2 separate regions of the Homo sapiens genome follow, and region 1 is linked to region 2. The links are contacts of gene promoters, found by promoter capture Hi-C in blood cells and fetal thymus (Javierre and others, 2016). All regions are on one chromosome and are shown on one strand. Each heading gives the region's core, a stretch centred on a gene start or on the middle of the fragment in contact. The rest is flanking DNA. Distances are from core to core; before and after follow the strand shown. Region 1 overlaps RUNX1 (RUNX family transcription factor 1). Region 2 holds the start of SETD4 (SET domain containing 4).

Region 1 (6,799 bases), core at 1,417-3,916, 1.0 Mb after region 2:
TCAGGTAACTTCCTAGTGACCTAGATGAGTCAATAGATGTCTTTGTGTCTCATTTGAGTTCTGCAAAATGGGCTAATAATATTCTAGACAAGCTTGCATCTAAATTACCAAGTTCCTGTTGGAAGTCTTTACATGCATCAGAAAGAGGTACCATAAAACACATCACAAATCTTCTTAGCTTAATAACACAAAGCCACTTAAAAATATTTTATTTTCTGTTTAGAAAATAGTTCTCCCATCATTTCACAAATGCAAGATATTTTCCCTCATTTTCGTAATTGCTTTCTCCAACTCCCATTTTTCAAGAAATCTTCAGAAGCTACACTGGTGCCTGAACAGATATTAAAATGTTCAAAGCACTTTTCCCACAACTCTTGTTTCTCGGCCTCCCCTGCTCCTCCCCATCAGATGCCACCAGTCCCCTTCTTTAGCCTTTTTGCTGAGCCTCCAGCCAAGGCAAAGAGGTATGTCTTTCTTGACCTCTTCCCTCTCATAAAATATAATAACTAGGATGTCCTGGAGTGGTAAAAAGGGAGCATTTCCTTTGAGATCTTTGCTGACCGTGAACACAATCAGGGAGTACTTTACGAGAACACAGGCTGGCTCTTGAACACAAAACAGGGCTCAAAACCTCCTGTCACCTTCAACATGCTGGGAGGATAAGCTCAGACACACTGCTCTCACTTGCGCAGGCTTCACTCTTTGTTGGGGAGACACGTGTTATACTCTCTTGGCTCTCTGAATCTCTCTCTTTCTCTCCCTCCCTCATCTTGCAATAACACTGAGTAATGATGCCAGAAAGGAGCCAAGGTGGAGGAATAAACACTAAATCCGAAACATGACGGAAATTATGTATTTTATTGCAGTGACAGAAAGAGTAAGGCCCTTGCTCAGGTTTACCCATGAAAATTATGTTTGGCTGCACGTAGAGAAAAGCTGACCACAGTGGCTTGAGCAGACGGGCAGGAGTTCCAGAGTGAGCAGTCCAGGCTGATACGGTGGGGTGCAGGACACTCCTATGTTTTGGTCCCACCATGCTGAGGCCAGGGAGAGATGGCCTGCACCTCTGATCTGTCCAGGCAGAAAGGACATGGGAGGCCTCAACCCCTTCTTGTGGGTCCTGGTATTTTTATTCAGGAAGGGAAGCCCTTCTCTGCAAACTTTCGCTGACATATTGCTTAGGCCACAACTAGGTCACAGGCCTCTGGCTGGAGGGAACTGAGGACAATGGAGTTGTCACTTTCCAGCCTGGAGAGTGGAGGGAAGCAGAGAGGAAGGTAGCTGGGAGCAGATGTCTCGTGAACCCAGAGCCACATCTGCCAGACCTGGTGACAAAGACAGGCTGTGTGCCTTCCCAGTCATATCTTGTATCATTTGTTTTCTGTGCCAGCTGGGCTTTGGAAACAAATGCAGAGAAACTTTATGTTCTTCCTTCATTCCCTCTTGGAAGTTGCAGATGGATGCCAAGGGTGAATATTTATTGTTGACCCATTGAAAGCAAACTGGACAGGAGAAGGGATGAGGTGGGGGAAGGGGCTAGGTTAAATGGATCCAAGTTCACACCTATTTTCAGTGTCAAAGCCCCAAATCACACTTGAGCGTCTCCTCAAGTTAGAATGAGCAATAGAAAACCAGACAGCCCTGTATCTATGGGAATGTTGCTTGCATCAGAGCCACCACACCTTGCTGTGAGGTTGATCGGTTTCTCGCAGCTGGAAATAGTTGCTTCCCGCCCCCCATCTTCCTCACTCTTTTAAACTCTCAAAAATCCCCCAGCCTCCCAAATTTGTTTTAATTTTTAAGAGAATTCTTTTCTACAAAAGAGGGAAACCTTCTTTCAAATGGCCCTTCATAAATTTCCCTAAAGAGGTTTTTATCTCTGATAGAAATATGAAAAACAGATAACCAGATAATTGCCCTCTATCTAGGCTTTAAACACTTATTCATACATTGAATTTCTGCAAGTTACAGATGATTGTTGCTGTGTGATTACTGGCCCTGTCTATTTCCTCAGCATGGATGCAAATCTTTCTCCCTGAGAAAGTCATTGCTTCGTTAAAAAAAAAAAAAAAAAGAAAGAAAGAAAAAGAAGAAAGAAAGGATGAATGAAAAGAAAGTTGTTATTCAGTTTTTCTCTTGAAATTAGAAATTTCTTTTTGTTTTGCTTTCATTTTGTTTTTCTGCAAGATCGGTGTTCATTTAGAGAATTGTTGATTTTGTATGCAGCACTGCCCTCCCATGCCATGGTCCATATGTGTCCATTTTTTGATGGACTTCTTTTTAAACAATGAGTTCCCCAAGACATTTTTGGGGCCTCAAATGGGAAAGGTCATCACAAATAGAAATCTCAGTTTGCTAGTTGGGCTTGCTCAATCGCTCTGCTGATCTCAGGACTGATGCTGCTTTGCATAAATGCGAAGTTCATGTTAAATTGATTCTAAATCAAATACTCAACGTATTCAGTCTTGAAACATGTCCATTGGGAGAGAGAACTATGCAGCTCCAACATTTTGCAAAGATTCTACTTTGCTTTCTTTGCCAACATCCAACTTTTACTTCTGGGCGTTAGAATACCCTCCGTAGAGACTGTGACTTCTCAAAAGAAACTTTGCTAGTCTCGAATGGAGAATGAAATAATAAGATTTGAGCAATAAATCAAATATAGCCTGAGAGCAACACCACAGAGCAGCCTCTGTCATCTCCTCTCCTTGGGAGGTACGTGGGTCTTGATCAGCTCTCATGTGCTTCTGAAAATGTGTAGGTTTTCATATATATGTTTTTCATTGTTAGTAGATCCTAAAGAAAGACCCAGAAAATCTTGCAGCAGTCAGCTTGCCAGATGGGGGTTATGTTAAAAAGAGCAAACAGAAGTCAGAGCTCTGAACACACCGCAGGGTATTCCATAGTCACATTCCATTGTGGGTGAGTTTTTGTTGTTGGTTTTTTTTTTTTTTTTTTTTTTTGGATGGAGTCTACTAGCTCTGTCACCAGGCTGGAGTGCAGTGGCCCCATCTCAGCTCACTGCAATCTCCGCCTCCCACGTTCAGCCATTCTCCTGCCTCAGCCTCCTGAGTAGCTGGGATTACAGGTGTGTGCCACCACGCCCGGCTAATTTTTGTATTTTTAGTAGAGACAGGTTTTCACCATGTTGGCCAGGATGGTTTCGATCTCCCGACCTCGTGATCTGCCCGCCTCAGCCTCCCAAAATGCTGGGATTACAGGTATGAGCCACTGCACCCGGCCCATCCTAGGTGAGTTTTTTAAGGGAGACAAAAAATGTCAGAGTGGCACTCATTGCTCAAGAGAGAAGCACTTCCCCTTTTACTGTGCAAAATTTTATAATATGTATAGCTATCAATGTTTGTTTCTTATTACTGCCCCAGAATGTGCAAAAGAGAGTTTAGGTCAACTAAGATACATTGGTTTGAGTGCCATTTTTTTCAGGAGCAGTTTTAACACCAACCACAGTTTGCTGCACTTTCTTACACAGCTTCTGTTTGCACTTTGAACTCTGTGCACTGAGCCCCTCATTCCACACCATCTGCAGGCTGCATCTGGGCAGCTTCATCCAGCTCGGTAACAGTCACAGCTGAACTTGACATTCACCCACTTTGAAAGTATAGAATTCATAAAATCTGAAACCACATATGTGTATAAAACCCATGCAAGAGTGGGTAGGAACTAAAAGGAGGAGAAAAAGTAGTCCTCCCCTTCAGGAGTGTTCTCTCTTATCCCAGCCCCTTTCATGTAATGAATGGGTGAATGGGTGAAAATGAAATTATTTAGGCATTGACTGACAGGTAGGAACAGAAACTCAGGCTTCTAGTTTATTATTATTTATTATTATTGAATCTACTGTTTCTAAAGATGAGAATGGCTTTTACTTCCAAAGTTCTAGAGGAGAGGAACAACGTTAAGCAACCTTAAACAAATATTAGCACTGTGAAAGGTGCAGGGTCATATAAAGAAGTAGAAGTGCCGACAATGAAAATTCTATCCAACTGTCAATCATTCCATATCATTACTTCATTTTTTTAAATAAAGGCTGTGTCTCCCATATGCTTCCCTCCAGGTTGTATTCAAAACAAAGAAATAATTGTATTACAGATGTGAATAAATCTGTTTAAAAAATAAGTGAACCCTGAGACATATGAACTATGAGACATTGTTCTATATGATGCTTTGTAAGTTTTATGTGCTGTGTCATAGAGTTATATAGAGTTATGTATATATATAGTTCTGTATAGTTTCAGTTGGCATCTAAAAATTATATAACTTTATTTTTTAAAATCTATAATTATAAATATTTTTAAACTGCTAGAAAGGAAGAGCCGAATATTTGGCTGGAGTGATTTTTAGACATTTCTCTACCTTAGGGCACCAGAGAGGTTCACTTGCCCAGGGTTCCATAGCTGGTTGGTGCCAGAGTCCGAACGAGAAACCAGGTCTTCTCAGCTCCTGTCACCCACAGTTTTGCAGACACTGAATTTATGAGGTGGATTCCATTCAAGCATGCACATAACTAGCAGACACTTCTCCTAATCCTCCTCAATTCCCCTTTGCATTGCTCAGATACCACAATCCTTTGCAGGTTAAATCCCTTCACCTTGTGAACTCATTAGGCAGGGCAATGTATATGAATCCCTGAGTCCTTAAGAACGTCCTTAGGCTGTGTTAGAAATGCAGTTGCCATAGGAGTAACCGGCCCCTGCTGTCATTTGGATGTTCTCTCTTCCCCAAAATCCAGCACCACCTTGGTTAAGCACCCACCATGTGCCTGCCCACCTGGCTCCTTAGGCAATGTTACAATTAACCAGGTTGGTTTTGATGAGGGTCTAGGGCAAAATTTGAACCACCACAACAGCCAATGTGCACATCCATGCAGAGGGTTCAGAGATGGCCTCGGCCAAGGCTGCCAGGCTTCAGCTCTGGAAGGAGCCCTGGGAAGTGGGAGATCTTTGTATAAAAATTGGAACCCAAACTATAATTCCCATTAGGGATATATATGCTCACATCACTCCTGATTCAAAGCTCAGAAGTGGCCTCTCAGGAGAAATAAAGGTCTCTCTCTCTCTCTCTCTCTATCTCACACACACACACACACACACACACACACACACAGAGAGAGAGAGAGAGAGAGAGAGAGAGAGAGAGAGAGAGAGGCCAGCATTCAAAATTCCCATGCTTAGGGAATCCATTGGGACTTCTCCCCAGGATGTACTGAATTCAAGGAAGCTTTCTCTAGGTGTAGCAGAAACTGCTGCTGTCATGTCTCTGCTCACCAGGACGTAGCTTCTCTCTACAGACCTTTATTTCTTTCCCTGGAGGCTTCAGTCCATGTTGAAGTGTAAACTCCACTCAGCTCCAGGAGGAATCGTGTTTTCTTTATCACCAGGGGCTTCTTCTACGAGTTGCCTTTGATAGGGAGGCCAGGAGGAAGATAGGCCCAAGCTCAGGGGTGGGATCGGGGAGCAGGAAGCCTGTGGGCTTTAGAATCGAGGTATTGGTTTCTCCCTGTCACCATCATCCACCACCTGTGTGAACTTGAGCCATTTATCGAACCTCACGGAGCCCCAAGTTTCTCATCTGTAAACAAGGGGAATGAGCCCTACTTTGTATGGTTGTCAAGAGGATTTGAGACAATATGTATAAAGCAATGGACACGCAGAGGAAGTCAATAAGTACAAGGTAACTCTGAAAATGCCACCAAAGGGAGGCTAGGGACAGGAAAGCCATCTCCGCCAACCTCAAGAACGTGGCCCCGAAGCTGTTCCAGGAACTGGGCATGTATGAAGATAAAAAAAAAAAAAGAAATGTCTGCCTCTCTCATCATGTAGCAGTGCAGAAGTGATCTTGGTGCTCTTTGGCAGAAGGCTGAGTTTATGAACTTTAAAACCGATAGTAATAACAGCTAGCATTTATTGAGCATATGCTATGCGCAAGGCACTTGCACCGTTCCAAGCATTTTCTTGCCTTACTGTATTAAAATTTTGGCACAACCCTGTGAGTAGGTGCTCTCATTATTAATCCCACTGAGTGAAGGGGAAGCATGGCCTGCCAAGGTTACGTGACCTGCTTGTGGTTAGGCTGCTGGGAAAGGTGGAGGTGCGGTCCAAACAGAGGCAGTTCCTGCAGCAGAGCCCACTGTCTGTCTGCCCGTGGAGGGGACAGGTCGGTGTTGAGAATATCTGTTTGGCACATGAGGGAGTTTAGCCTTACAGAGCGAAAGGCTTGCCAAGGCCCCATGGACAGGAGGCGACGCTGTGGGGTGGCACCAAGCTGGGGCACTGGCCACCATCCTGGACTGCTTTTCTGACTCTGGATGCATTTGGTGGCTTTATGGCCCCACCACTGGTATCCAGACCTCTCCTGCCCACGTGTTTCTCCCATCAGAACTGAGAGAGATGTTCAGGCAGTTCCCAGACAGCCCACAAGAAACACGCCTTTAAGCCAGGGGTGCTCAAACTTGTTCCCAAGACGATGGTGACATGCTGGGGTGGGGAGAAACCACTGCTATGCCTTCTTCCTGACCGACCAGTTGTTTTCATTTATCAATCTGAGAATCCATCGAAGGTGATATCAGGGTGACATAAATGAGGCACTTCCTGTGACAAACTTAAGGCGACACTTGCTCCCATTGTTGTACAAGGCTGACCTTGCATTTACATGGGCTTGAGAGCGCACCACCTTGAATTTTGTGTCCCAGGTATATCTCTTGCCCTGTCCCAGTCCAGGCCATGGAACACATGTACAGAAGAAACCACAGAGTGATGTACCCAGCAATCAGGGGCCTGCCACC
Region 2 (7,289 bases), core at 357-2,856:
CTAAGTTTCTAAGTTTTTTTCTGGGGCCATCTTGGCCAAAAGGGGTTCCATTCAGTCAGTAGGGGCTTAGGATTTGTTTAGTTTACAGCTGTTAGAAACTATGTTAGTGTTTAAATCTTTTAGTGTTGGGGGGCAGGGGTGAATAAAATCATTTGTGTTTAGAATCTGTAGTTTAAATAGGATTTGTGCTCCGTATGCTGAGCGCCGGTCCACTGGGCCCACTTTTCTTTCTCTATACTTTGCCTCTGTGTCTCTTTTTTTTCTCAGTCTCTCATCCCACCCGATGAGAAACACCCACAGGTGTGGAGCGGCAGGCCACCCCTTCACTATTTACATAGTATTTACATTGTATTAGATGTTATAAGTAATCTAGAGATGATTTAAAGTATATGGGAGGATGTGCATAGGTTATATGCAAATATTACACCATTGTGAAAGTTGCAGAATCAAAATGGAGTCACTTGTGTCAAAACCCTGATAAATGCAGCTGGGGAAGGCCTTGAAGGAAGGGTTCTCATGCACTACGCCTCATAACAAGAATTGTCACAAAAGACCCTAACCTTGCAGAAAGGCCCAATCTTAAACACAGAAAATCCTTCTGCAAGGACATCTGTCCAGCAACTTTGGACTGATGCTACCTTTGTTATTCATTCTTTTAGCCAAAGATAATTGATTTAAAGCAATTCATATAATCTTCATTTTCCTTTTAAAAACATCTCCTTGCCTCAACCTCCCCCAAAACGCACACAGTTTACTATGGCATGCATATTCCCATTGCAATGCTACTCCCAGATAAATCTCATTTTCTTTTAGGGAGCCTCTTTTGTTACTTAGGTTTACACCATTGTATACAAGGGACTTGAGCATTCTAATTCTGGTATCCGCAGGGTCCTGGAACCATTCCCCCACGGACACTAAGGGACAACTGTACTTGTTTTTCATGACAGAAAACATGTTTAGGAGTACTAATTTTTTTTCCCCCATAGAAGATTTCCATAGAAGGGTTTTGGAGAGAGACACCACAGGAACATGCTATCAGCATGATTTCTTCCTGATGTTATCCTTGACCACCCGGTAAGGTACTGTTTGCCAGGTTTCTCCACTGTAGTCCCCAACACCATTCCAGGCTGTACTCTTTGGAATCAAGTTACTAGGCATAGCCCATAATCAAAGTGGGGGTGGGTGGGGCAGAAATCGAGCTCCCGCTATTGGAAGAAGGGGTATTTAGATATATTATTTAGAATTTTCCTGTGAGGCGGGTCCTGGGGCCAGAATGAAACGGTGGAATGGGGGCGGGGATTGGCGAGCAAAGTGACTCGACCCGGCAAACCCAGCCTGGCAGGAAAGCCCGAGGTCTGGGCGAACAGGGCCGCGCGCCCTAGGTGGTTTAACTTCGTAAGGAAAGACTCCGCAGGCCGGCTTTTCAGTGCGCAGCTTGCTCGCCTGCGGGTTACTGGGTTTTCTGACCCCTGACTCGACGTAGGGGTTATGGGGCTGTGGGTGTGCCGACCTCGTCCCCGACTGTACTGGGCGTTGGCGGCGAGTCCGCGAACACTGCGCATGCGCGAGCCGGAAGCTGCCGCCCGCGGCGGAAGGGGCGGACCCGGGAGACTGAGGACTTGGATTGCTTAAGGACACCAGGCAGGCGCGACAGCCTTCAGCCTCTCCCTCTGCAGTTTTGGCCGGTTCCTTTAACTTGCCTTCATCTGGGGCTGTTTGGTATTTCCACGTGCCTTGGGCCCGCCCACTGCAGCCTCCATCTTGGAAGCGGCCGCCGGCGCCTAGGTGAGCTAGTAGGACTTCCGGGTCGGGCCTCCAGTTGCCCGGGTAACGGGAGCAGAGTCGGCGGGGTGCGTTCCTTAGTCTTTCATTCATCAGCGTAAAAAGAACTGAGTTTAGGTCGCAGGTCCCCTCCAGGGCAGGCATTATCGTGTGCGCTGCAGTAACCTCTCATCTTGTGGAGTCCTACACTTAGCGCATGTTGCTCCGGCGCGCTGCGTAAAGCTGAGGAGCCTGAGGCCCGAGGTCCGATGCTCGCCTGGCTGGCCTATGGCTGCGGGAGCGGTGTGTGTCGGACCGTAGGACGGCCTCACGGCTAGAGTTTGAGGACTATGGGGGCGGGGACGGTGCCTGTGTCTGTGGCGGTCACCGGGCTTCACGTGGTCCTCAGCAGGGTGATGGTGGACAGCTCGCGCGAGGGCCCGGGAGTCTTGGGGACACTTCCCGGCGCGGTCTGTGGACTGAGCGCTGGGACCCGCACCGAACCAGCCGCCGTTCGCCTCTGGAGCTGGACATGCCGACTTTCGTTAGGTCAAATAATGAACCTTATACTGCGGAAGTGCGGTATTAATATTGCCTGGAGTTCTTGTCTCTTGCTCATTTCTGCCCTCGTATGTTTTAGAAGTAGATTTATTTTTTATTTTTATTTTTTTAATTTATTTTTTGTGACAGAGTCTCGCTCTGTCGCCCAGGTTGGAGTGCAGTGGCGTGATCTCGTCTAGCTGCAGCTTCCGCCTCCTGAGATCAAGCGATTCTCCTGCCTCAGCCTCCCCAGTAGCTGGTATTACAGGTGCCTGCCACCACGCCCGGCTGATTTTTGTATTTTTAGTAGAGACGGGGTTTCACCATGTTGGCCAGGCTGGTCTTGAACTCCTGACCTCAGCCCGCCTCGGGCTCCCAAAGTGCTGGTTTTACAGGCGTGAGCCACTGTACCCAGCCATTATTTTATTTTTATTTATGTATTTATTTTTTTATTTTTTTGAGACGGAGCCTCGCTCTGTCGCCCAGGCTGGAGTGCAGTAGCGCGATCTCGGCTCACTGCAACCTCCGCCTCCCAGGTTCAAGCGATTCTCCTGCCTCAGCCTCCCAAGTAGCTGGGATTACAGGCGTGTGCCACCACGCCTAGCTATTTTTTGTATTTTTAGTAGATTAAGCTGTAGTCACTAGGTCTGCAAGATAAAACTGTTTTAGAGGGACTGATATAATGGGAATTCTGTTACTGTAGGGATCATGATTTAGCTCACAGTATAAACGTTTCATGTACAAAAGCACTTGAGAGAAACAGTTTACCAAAACATACATTTGTATACTTAAAGGTACAAAGAACAGTGATTATCATATAACTGGAAAGTAAATCAAAGAAATGTTTTTTATTTTAGATTGAGCATTTCCACAGAAATTACAGTTTTGTCCTTTTTGAAAAAATAGAACTGTATTTCAGAAAAAAGAAACTACAGTTTTAGCATGCAGAAAGGAAAAGGGAGAACAAGCCGGATCAGAAGACGAAAACTCTGCGGAAGTTCTGAATCAAGAGGAGGTATGGTTTTTCTTTTAGTACCAGTAATGAAAAAAGAAATCCTTTTGTGATTGCTTGTTTGTTCATACGTAGCTTTTCTTTCTTTCTTTCTTTTTTCTGAGACGGATTCTCGCTCTGTCACCCAGGCTGGAGTGCAGTGGTGTCATCTTGGCTCACTGCAACCTCTGCTTCCCCGGTTCAAGCGATTCTCCTGCCTCAGCCTCCCAAGTAGCTGGGACTACAGGCGTGAGCCAGCATGCTCGGCCTAACACATAGCTTTTCTCAAAGGCACACAGTGTTCAAAGAGAATCTTTCTTTTTTTTTTTTTTTTGGAGACAAGGTACATTCTGTTACCCAGATTGGAATGCAGTGGCGTGATCATGGCTTGATCTCCCAGGCTCAAGTGATCTCCTCCCTTAGCCTCCCTCCTGCCTCAGCCTCCCAAGTACCTGGGACTACAGGTACATGCCACTGCACCCGGCTAATGTTTTTTTAAATTTGTTGTAGTGACAGGGTCTATGTTGCACAGGCTGGTCTTGAACTCCTGGGCTCGAGTGGTCCTCCTGCCTTGGCCTCCCCAAAGCACTGGGATTACAGGTGTGAGCCACTGTGCCCAGCCCAAAGAGAATATTTCTTAAATAACACTCTTTTTTAATGGTGCCATTGTATTCTTTTAGATCCTGGTGGGAATGTGAAGATAACTAACTCATTGTTTCAACTGTCTTCTCTGGGGATGACTCCCAACTTTCTTTTTCTGGTCTTGACCTTCAGCTATCTGTAGGATATCAATGTTTGGATGTAAATTTATGACTTCAAATTCAGGGTAACCCTGTCTGAAGAAGATACTGTATCTTGTTCAATACAAAAGTGCTTGGCCATCTGGAAAGTCCTATGTAAATCCAACTGGATATGGTACAAGATATCGATAAGCTCACTTTTTTTTTTGCTGATGGAGGTCCAGTTGTTTGATCATCATTTATTGAAAAGACTATCTTCTTCCACTGATTTGCCTTTGCACTTTGTCAAAAATTTACGTGTGGACCTCTTCCTATTTTCTGTGTTGTTCCTTTGACCTATTTGTGTCTGTTTTGACAATATCACACTAATTTGATTACTGTAGCTTTATAATAAGTTTTAAAATCAATCTTTCAAAGATATTGGGGCTATTCTAGGCTTTTTACATTTCCACATGAATTTTGGGATCATCTTGTTAATTCCTGTATGAAAGCCTGCTTGAATTTTGATTAGGATTACATTGAATGAATATAGTCGTATGTTGCATAAGTATGTTTTGGTTGATGGATCACATGTACAGTGGTGGTCCTCAGATTATAATATTGTATTTTTTTTTTTTTTAAGAGATGGGGTCTTTCTGTGTTGGGCAGGCTGGGCTCAAACTCCTGGCCTCAAGCAGTCCTCCCGCCTTGGCCTCCCAAATGCTGGGAATACAGAAGTGAGTCATTGCGCCTGGCCAATACTGTGTTTTTATTGTAACTTTTCTATGTTTAGATACACCAATTCTTACTATTGTGTAAGTCTGTCTGACACATTTCATCAGACATGTTCTTTTAAAAATGGTAATCCGATTATATAGTGGTTTTAATCACCATTTGTTCTCTCCTTGCCTGATAGTGAATGAGAGCCACAAGTCTGAATTTATAGAGCTGAGGAAGTGGCTGAAAGCTAGGAAGTTTCAAGATTCAAACTTAGCGCCTGCTTGTTTTCCAGGTAAGATCTAGCCTTCAGCTGTCCTGCCCTTTCCCACACGAGAGCCAGGTAGACAGCAGGGGCCACTCTTGCAGGTGGGCCTCAGCAGATATTGTCCTTCAGCTGGTTTGCATGTGTTCCCCTTGGGTTGGAGGAGGAGTCCCCTGTGTATGGCCAGTTAATTGCAGAGCAGTGGGCTTCAGCACTGAACTGAGGTAGACTGACATTCTTCTCTGGAACTTGTGCTTATTAGGGAGGTTAGGTTAACATTTTGCCAGGCGTGGTGGCTCACATCTGTAATCCCAGCACTTTGGGAGGCTGAGGCAGGCAGATCACTTGAGCTCATGAGTTTGAGACCAGCCTGGCCAACATGACAACATCCTGTCTCTACTAAAAGTACAAAAGTTAGCCAGGCGCGGTGGTGTGCCCTGTAGTCCCAGCTACTCTAGAGGCTTAGGCAGGAGGATTGCTTGAGCCCGGGAGGCTGAGGCTGCAGAGAGCCATGATCATGCCCCTGCACTCCAGCTTGGGCGATAGAGTGAGACCTTGTCTCAAAAAACTAACAAAAAACAAAAACCACTTTCTTCTGGAACATTCTCTCACAGAAGTTGGGCAGCTTGCTATGGGTGTGTGCCTGCATACATGGCCACTCCACTCTTCCCACAGGTGGGCAAGAGATAACCACAGGGAGGACCAAGATGCTCTTTAAAAGGATTTGGAGTCTGCTGTAGCACAGAGATAGTGGTGGTGCAATTAGGGCCCCAAAATTCTACATCACAGGGCAGGCTGCATCTTACAGAAAAGTCAAAGCATATGCCACACAATGCTCCCCTTGGCCATTAGAATTATTATTCAAGTACCCATTAGGTAATTGAACTTTGAGCAAATTAACTTCCTCATATACCACACGCCAAGGCAAATGATTTCCCACTTGTGCCCCTTGCTGAGTGAGGTGATGTGTGTAAAGTTGTTCTCCATGAGTCAGTTACACATCATGACTTTGAACTAAAATGCTTGATTTGAGCCATTTTCTATTAAGGCCCCTTCTAGTTGATGGTCATGAACCATATTGTCAGCCTCTAAAATAATGCTTGACTTTCTGTTTTTGTGTGTCAAAGATGGTCAGTAAAAGCCACACCCTTAGATGTACAGAACAGAGTTTTTCCCCAGATGATCAAGAGAGTCAGTAGTGTCAGCAGTAAACTTGCCGTGTCTAAGGCCTGCCCACATCTCTGGTGTCATTTGCCCTAGGAAGGATGGGTTTAAAATCATCAAGCAGGAATCAGCAGATGGTTTAGATGGAATACCTGAGAATAGGTCATCTGTTTGTAATTTGGAGCAGTAAAGAGTTCCTATTTTTAAAAGTGAGCACAACTTGCCCTGGCCCCAGCCCCAGATTTCGGGTGATGCAGGTGGCTTGGCAGTGACCCGTGCCCAGTGCTTACAGTTCTGGGGAACCTTCTGTAAGTGCTTCATGTAGTTTTTAGCTCTTAATCAGTGTATGATAGGAGGTAACATTTCTGGGCTTCAGTCAAAATGTATGAACTCTGGGGAATTCATCTTAGTTTGTGGAGGGGCACAGGAAATCTCCTAAGCAGGATTCCATCTTTAGACTCTCTCTTCTTTTCTGCCTTGGGAACTGACCGCAGCATTTCCTTTCACCACCAAAAGCACTAGCCAGGTCAGGGCCTCCCATGTAGATTGATGATAGTGGAAATTTTGAGGCTTTGAGACATTTGTGATAAGCTTTACTCTCATGAGCTCCTAATGGCCACTTCTACTTTGCCTAGTATATCCAATATGAAAATGAAAGTAAGTGTAGATTACTATATGTTTTTTGATATTAAACACTATCTACCATATAAATATAGGTAAAGGATCTTCTAGATGTATTCCATAGGCCAGCTTTTGTTCATATATATGTTTGGAGAGAATTTCCACTTAGATTAGCACGTAAGTTTTTGGAAGGATAACCAGGTAGAAGAAAATCTTCCCATTAGTCATTGATTCTAGGAGGAGTTCTGGAGCACAGGGATGATTAACTCCACAATGGGGTACACAAAATCAATGAAATAAGTTAACACTAGAACCAGCTGTATAAGCAGACAGTGTCCTCCTGGGAGGGGAGATGAATTGGGACTCATCAAATCCAACTTGCTGGGAAACTGATGGAGGACTTGAGGCAGGAATTCCCACCATGAGCCAGGAGCATCAAATCCAACCTGCCAGGAAGCTGATGGAAGACTTGAGGCAGGAATTCCCACCATGAGCCAGGAGCATCAAATCC

Evidence for each region. Contacts are between HindIII fragments. The CHiCAGO score rates a contact against its expected background, and 5 or more counts as called.
Region 1: a fragment that was not itself captured here is called in contact with the fragment with the promoter of SETD4 in region 2 in 1 of 17 cell types (neutrophils); the score reaches 5.7 in neutrophils.

Annotation. Positions count from the first base shown.
Region 1 is chr21:35,036,936-35,043,734 of GRCh38, reverse strand. All of the region lies in intron 2 of RUNX1 (RUNX family transcription factor 1), which reads left to right. RUNX1-IT1 (RUNX1 intronic transcript 1) reads left to right here and starts at 4,309. Exons shown (of 1, transcript NR_026812.1): 1 at 4,309-5,810. The HindIII fragment of the contact is 5,143 bases long and covers 95-5,237 here.
Region 2 is chr21:36,054,843-36,062,131 of GRCh38, reverse strand. SETD4 (SET domain containing 4) reads left to right here and starts at 1,606. Exons shown (of 12, transcript NM_017438.5): 1 at 1,606-1,785; 2 at 3,208-3,316; 3 at 4,928-5,023. The coding sequence starts at 3,244. It overlaps SETD4-AS1 (SETD4 antisense RNA 1), which reads right to left and starts at 1,528. Exons shown (of 3, transcript NR_186380.1): 1 at 1,511-1,528. RefSeq lists enhancers at 1,604-1,653, 1,684-1,833. The HindIII fragment of the contact is 7,728 bases long and covers 1-6,750 here.